2 separate regions of the Homo sapiens genome follow, and region 1 is linked to region 2. The links are contacts of gene promoters, found by promoter capture Hi-C in blood cells and fetal thymus (Javierre and others, 2016). All regions are on one chromosome and are shown on one strand. The core of a region is centred on a gene start or on the middle of the fragment in contact, and the rest is flanking DNA. Distances in the headings are between cores, read along the strand shown. Region 1 overlaps NUP153-AS1 (NUP153 antisense RNA 1). Region 2 holds the start of TMEM14B (transmembrane protein 14B).

What was found. Contacts are between HindIII fragments. The CHiCAGO score rates a contact against its expected background, and 5 or more counts as called.
Region 1: a fragment that was not itself captured here is called in contact with the fragment with the promoter of TMEM14B in region 2 in 1 of 17 cell types (non-activated CD4 T cells); the score reaches 5.1 in non-activated CD4 T cells.

The regions. Positions count from the first base shown.
Region 1 is chr6:17,709,856-17,712,950 of GRCh38, reverse strand. It overlaps NUP153-AS1 (NUP153 antisense RNA 1), which reads right to left. Exons shown (of 3, transcript NR_134618.1): 3 at 1,924-2,162. Among named protein-coding and RNA genes, the nearest start is that of NUP153-AS1, 4.4 kb to the right of the region's middle. The HindIII fragment of the contact is 2,783 bases long and covers 367-3,095 here.
Region 2 is chr6:10,746,452-10,749,871 of GRCh38, reverse strand. TMEM14B (transmembrane protein 14B) reads right to left here and starts at 2,067. Exons shown (of 6, transcript NM_030969.5): 1 at 1,991-2,067; 2 at 604-670; 3 at 174-250. The coding sequence starts at 626. TMEM14B-DT (TMEM14B divergent transcript) reads left to right here and starts at 2,288. Exons shown (of 2, transcript NR_187231.1): 1 at 2,288-2,411. RefSeq lists silencers at 2,038-2,097, 2,053-2,273, 2,108-2,337 and an enhancer at 2,458-2,507. The HindIII fragment of the contact is 12,296 bases long and covers 1-3,420 here.

The DNA.
Region 1 (3,095 bases), core at 509-3,008, 7.0 Mb before region 2:
ATTAATAACTTCTGGTGGCATGGTTTTGAAACAATGCTCCTAGAATGTAATACAGTTCACCTGGTGATCTTGTTAAAATGTAGATTCTGATTGTGTTGGCTTGGGATGGGCAGAGCTGCTTTATTCTAACAAGCTCCCGGGGGCTGCAGCTGGTGCTTGCTGGTCAGAGTAGCAGCAAGAGGCCAAAAGTCACTGTTTGTTTAAACTGGGTAGTTCATGCTTGTCTGATGGTGGTGGGGTGATATGTATGTGAGGGTTGTTTGCATGTTAACTGGTTTGCATGCTTTTGAAAAGGAATGCCTTAATAAGTTAGGGTCTGATAAACTTGAGCATTCTCTACAAATGCTTTTAAAAAATAAAGAAGCTTAGTATTAGCAAACTAAGGTTTGCAAAGGTTATAGTTTTACAGACTGCAACCTTAATAAGTCCAGTTTCGTAATGTAACTGATGAATTATGTTAATAAATAAAACTAAACCAATTGATTTCTTTTTTTTCTTTTTTCTTTTTTTTTGAGATGGAGTCTCGCTCTGTCGCCCAGGCTGGAGTGCAGTGGCATGATCTCCGCTCACTGAAAGCTCCGCCTCCCAGGTTCATGCCATTCTCCTGCCTCAGCCTCCCGAGTAGCTGGGATTACAGGCGCCCACCACCGCGCCCGGCTAATTTTTTTTTTTTGTATTTTTAGTAGAGACGGTGGTTTCACCATGTTAGCCAGGATGGTCTTGATCTCCTGACCTCGTGATCCGCCTGCCTTGGCCTCCCAAAGTGCTGAGATTACAGGCATGAGCCACCGTGCCCGCCCCTGATTTCTTGTATGAGATAGATTCAACAGCATGTGTTTAGAATTTACGTGTAGGTTTTTTTTTTTTTTTTTGAGACAGAGTCTGGCTCAGTTGCCCAGGCTGCAGTACCGTAGCATGATCTCGGCTCACTGCAACCTCTGCCTCCCAAGTTCAAGCGATTCTTCTGTCTCAGCCTCCCAAGTAGCTGGGATTACAGGCATGTGCCACCACACTCGGCTAATTTTTTAATTTTTTTAGTAGAGACGGGGTTTTGCCACGTTGGCCAGGCTGGTCTCAAACTCCTGACCTCGGGTGATCCGCACATCTTGGCCTCCCAAACTGCTGGATTACTGGTGTGAGCCACTGTGCCTGGCTTGAGTGTAGCATTTTTAAGGTGAATTATCAGTGTTAAGTGCTAATGATTAATAGATTATAAAATAGTAAACTTTAGTATAACTCAATAAAATGGTAAAGTGTAGCATAATATGTAGACAGAGATTGTTTTACAGTTTTGTATACTGACATACTAAATGCCAAGACTAGAAACCAACACATAAATATCTCAATAAATATTTGTGTTTTAATGAATTAATCTCAGTTAATTCATTAACTGTCTTAAATGTTAGGATGGGATTGCCTTCCTAAATTTGGTTATTATTTCATCCAATAAAACTGAGTTTCCATTCAAGATTGAATTTAAAATATGCCTTAAACTATAATGTAATGTACATAAACACATATATACCAAAGTCTAGTATACATTGATACATGTAGTCAGGAAGAGGAAATATATGGCATGTTGGAATCAAGTGATATATGTAGTTAATCAAAATTTGCTCATATTAGTTAATTTAGTCTTAAATATTACTTTATTCCCAATAGAGAGAGAACACAGTAAGTTAATGAGAATACAATGATTTACATCCTTAAATATCTTTCCGTTGTGTGGCCCTTCTTTCCCTAAAATACAAGCAAACAGGCAATAAATAAATAAATAAATAATAAATAAACCCAATAGCTTCATTTTCTTTATTTTTTTCTTTAGAGATGGGGTCTCACTCTGTTACCTAGGCTGGACTGCAGTGGTGAGATCATAGCTCGCTGCAGCCTTAGACTCCTGGGCTCAAGTGATCCTCCTGCCTCAGCCTCCCTAGTAGCTGGGACTACAGGTGCACACCACTAAGCTCAACTAATTTTTTCATTTCTTTGTAGAGAAGGGGTCTCGTTATGTTGCCCAGGCTGGTTTCAATCTCCTGGCCTCAAGTGATCCTCCTGCCTTGGCTTCCCAAAGTGCTGAGATTATGGGTGTGAGCCACATGCCTGACCAGGAATACACTTTAAAATAATAAAGTATGGTAGCAACAGGAAATGGCAAGGAGTGCCTGTTAAAAAAAAAAAAAAGGTATAGTAAATACATAAACCAGAAACAGCCACTTATCATTATGAAGTATTCTGTACTGTACATAATTGTACATACTCCACTTTTACACAAATGGCAACACAGTAGGTTTGTTTATACCAGCATCACCACAAACACGTGAGTAATGTGTTGCAATAAGACCTTAGGACAAAGACAGTATCACCAGGCAATACGAATTTTTCAGCTCTTTATGGGACCACCATTGTATATTGGGCCCATTGTTGATTGAAACATTGTTATGCTGTGCATGAGTGTGATAATTTGTTTTAATAGACATCACAGCAGATACCTCATTTTGTTTTGGTAAGGTGGAATAACTACATAAAATTTCGTAACTTCTTGTACTTGTCATCTTTAAACATTCTTTTGGCCAGAATTGTATTAGTACCTTCTGAAGAATGTATGATGGCTCTTTTTCAATCTAGGTTGGGTTTAGACTAAATTGTATTTCACTTTTAATTAGTGGATACTCCTTATCTATTAGAGATGGGTCAGCAGCCTATTTGCTAATTTATAATTGGCAGCTGGTTACATATATATATATACATATATATATATATTTGTTGTTTTAATTTTTTAATTTTTTTGATATGGAGTCTCACTCTGTGGCCCAGGCTGGAGTGCAGTGGCATGATCTCAGTTCACTGCAACCTCCACCTCCATGGTTCAAGCGATTCTCCTGCCTCAGCTTCCCGAGTGGCTGGGACTACAGGTGAGCACCACCACGCCCAGCTAATTTTTTTTTTTTTTTTTTTAAGTGGAGACAGGTTTCACCATGTTGGCCAGGCTGGTCTCGAACTCCTGACCTCCAGTGATCCACCCGCCTTGGCCTCCCAGAGTGCTGGGATTACAGGTGTGAGCCACTGTGCTCGGCCACTTTCTACTATATTATATG
Region 2 (3,420 bases), core at 818-3,317:
ATAAGCAAAAGGCAAGGGCAGGAGCTGCAAGACTGACAAGGAAGCCTGCACTCCAGCTTGGGGACCTACAGCAAAGCTGAGTCAAACGAGATTGCTTCTCAGGGACACAGGCACTCACATTTCACTGGAACAACGTGAAGATGTTAAGAGGCTAAGTAACAACAAAACCCTACCTGTTTTTACATAGCCAACGATCCCACCAGAAACAACCAGTGCTGTGTAGCCAAAGCCAAACCAATGCAAAGGCACTCTGAAAACACAAGAGAAGTCAGTGAGAAGTCAGTGCTAACCTGGATTTAAAAACAAACCATATTGTCATAGGATGGGGCTAAAAGGTAATCATTCCCCACAGGTCCTATGTGCCCACAGGTACTATCACTGAAAATAAGCACCACAGAGGTTGGATGACTTTCTGAGAGTCACACAACTAAGCAAAGCTAGAGCTGGGACTCAAACCCAAGTTTCTGGCCCACAGGTCCAGTGATCCTCCCATCCCGCACGCCATCCCAGGCAGTCTACTCTTAGGGTTCTTTTCAGCTGAGGAAAGGAACTCTGGTTTCCAGAAGCTCCTGGCTACTCTCTAACCATTTACTGTCTACTCACAATGGGAAGAGGGGCTTCTCCATTCTTCTCTTCTCAGTCCAGAAAGGAGACTACCCCAGGCCTGCATCTGGGGAAAACAAGCCGGATCAGCAGTGGTTAAAAGCACAGCTCCCCAGCAGTCAGAAAGAAGTGTGTCCAACCTGCAGGCTATGCAACCTAAGTCTCAGTATCCTTCACTGTACCATGAGGATAACACTGGTACCAATTTCCTGGGGGTGTTGTGAGCATTCAATGGATGTCACATGTAAAGGTGCTTAGCACCTAGTAAACCCTGAACAGATGCCGATCATTTCACATAGGTCCACAGGAAACTCAGCAAGATCCACTGACCAGCTCTATAATCAGGGAATGTGTTAGTCATTTCATTAAGCACTCACATTATCACTAAATCGGAAAGCAAATACTCCCGTGCCCTTAATCCAACTACTTTAATGTCTCTTTTGAGGGGTGGTAGGGATGTTGCTTTTCTTCACTGATGCAACAGCCAATTTCAATACTCAATTTTTTTTTTTAGAAACTTCTGCATCCAACTCACAGTTCTCGTTAGGAGGGCAGAAGGGGAGGGTAAAATACACGGAAACTCAAGTCAGAATCACATGTGACATTGCACCCTTGGAAAAACAGCTCCTATTTTCTTACAGAAAAGTATTCTGTATGCAGTGAACCTAACAAGATGGAAAGCAATGCATACGCCGTTTATTCTGTTTAAAGAATTAGGCCAGGCAAAGTGGCTCACGCCTGTAATCCCAGTACTTTGGGAGGCCCAGGCAGGCGGATTACCTGAGGTTAGGAGTTCGAGAACAGCTTGGTCAACATGGTGAAACCCATATTCTATTAAAACACACACACACACACACAAATCGGGCATGATGGCATGCACCTGTAATCCCAGCTACTTGGGAGGCTGAGGTGGGAGGATGGCTTGAGCCCAGGAGGCAGAGGCTGCAATAAGACATATTCAGGCTACTGCACTCCAGGCTGGGCGACACAGCGAGAACCCCTCCCCACCCCCCAAAAAAAGAAAGAATTAATTTCCCATAAAACGGGGAAGGGCAGCGGGCTTGGGATCTTGCCCACAGTTCTTAACTCGAGGCGGCACTGAGTAAGGGAGGCTTTTAAAGAGCTGGAGCAACAAAACCACCAGGAAACGAGGCAACACTATGCTACAAGGGTAAGCCTTTGCCTCAGGAGCTCAGGTGCTCCGAGCATCCACAGCCTCTTTTAAGACAAGCAGAAAATACCCAAGGAGAAAAGCACCGACCACACGGCATAAAGGCCCGCTGAATCGGGGGGACGAAAAGCAGACGGCCGTGAAACTCCTAAATAATCCCTAAAAGTTAAAAGTGGCAGAAAATAAAAACAATACTCTCCAAAGACCTGCACCGACCTGCCGAAGGCCCGCGGAGTCCACTACGGAGCGCAAGCCGCGGGACACAGCAGCCAGGTCTCTCCGGAAACGCGATTGCGTGCGCGCTGCGCCCCGGGGCCGCGGCAGGGCGGGGAGAAAGGCGGGACGTCGTGGCGCGTGCGCAGTGTCCTTGGAGAGAGGTGAGCGGAGAATGGGGACAGTGGGGGCGGGGCTTGAGCCGCGGATTACCAGCACGCGCCCTGCATCCCGGGGGCGGGGAGTGAGGCGGGGCATCGCGGCTAGCGCCGTTGGCGGGGAACCGGGCGGGGAATCTCTGTGCTTCCTCAGTCCCCAGGCCCAGCACCTGCAGGGCCGACCAGCTCCAGTCCCAGGTCCAATCCTGAGTGGCCAAAAGCCGGAAACCCGGAGTTGGAATTGGATCTTGCACAAGCTGGACCACGTAAGCTGGGCCAGGCCAGAGGTGGAGGCCACCGCTGCGGGAGGAGGGCATCTGATGATTTTGAAGGACCCCATTAATAGAGGGTATAAACCAGGTGCGGGCCATCAGGGAGGATTGTCACTCTGGCCCGATCTTGTTTGTTTACACCAGGAAGGGCCTGCCTTCCACCTGCAAGAAAATATGGCAGCTGCAGAATAATGTGGCGCAATGCCAAATATCCGTTTGTTTTAGGGAGTGAGGCTACTTGAGAAGCATCTTAAATGGGGAGAGAGAGCAAGTTAAATCTGATTTCCACGCAGCTCTGTGGATTCCGAATGTCCACAGTATGATGTTATCTCCATTCCCACTTCCGAGCCGCTCCTCTTCTGTGTTTCCTGCACCACCATTCGCTCAGTTGCTCTACACTAAAATTTGCTGTCATCGTTGACTTCTCCCTCTCCTTCATCCCCTACAAGTATCAACATAGACAACTCCGATCAATATAATCATCAGTGAATAAAGCAAATTGCAGCGCATATTCTTAAAGACAAACTTTCCACTTGCAGCAGCACCTACCTTCCAGATAGCTAAATTGAAGCCCGTGTTTATCATAGCTGCTTCTAACCAGCCAGAGCTGATAATAACTAAGAACTTGCAGGAATTGCAGTATGCCAGACCTTCAATTTAATTGAAGACTTTCCTGAACAATTAATGAGACTTGTCTTAACCAGCAGGGAATGGCTTTAGGGACTCATTCTTCCCTATGCAGGTGCAAGCCTCAAACCTTAATTAGGATCATCCACCATGATCCTCGAGCCCTTCCCCACCTTATACTTGAAGAGGCTGAACCTCAGAGAATTAAATTACCTACAGTCCTGGTCACTGGTAGAGCTATTATTTAAAGTAAGGTCTAATGTCAAAGCCTGCGTCCTTAATTCTACCATATGCTGCTTCTTGCAGTGTCGTTCCTCAACCAGAACACATAGCTCTTCTGTGTAGGTAAAGTCCATCAAAACATGTCATAAAATAA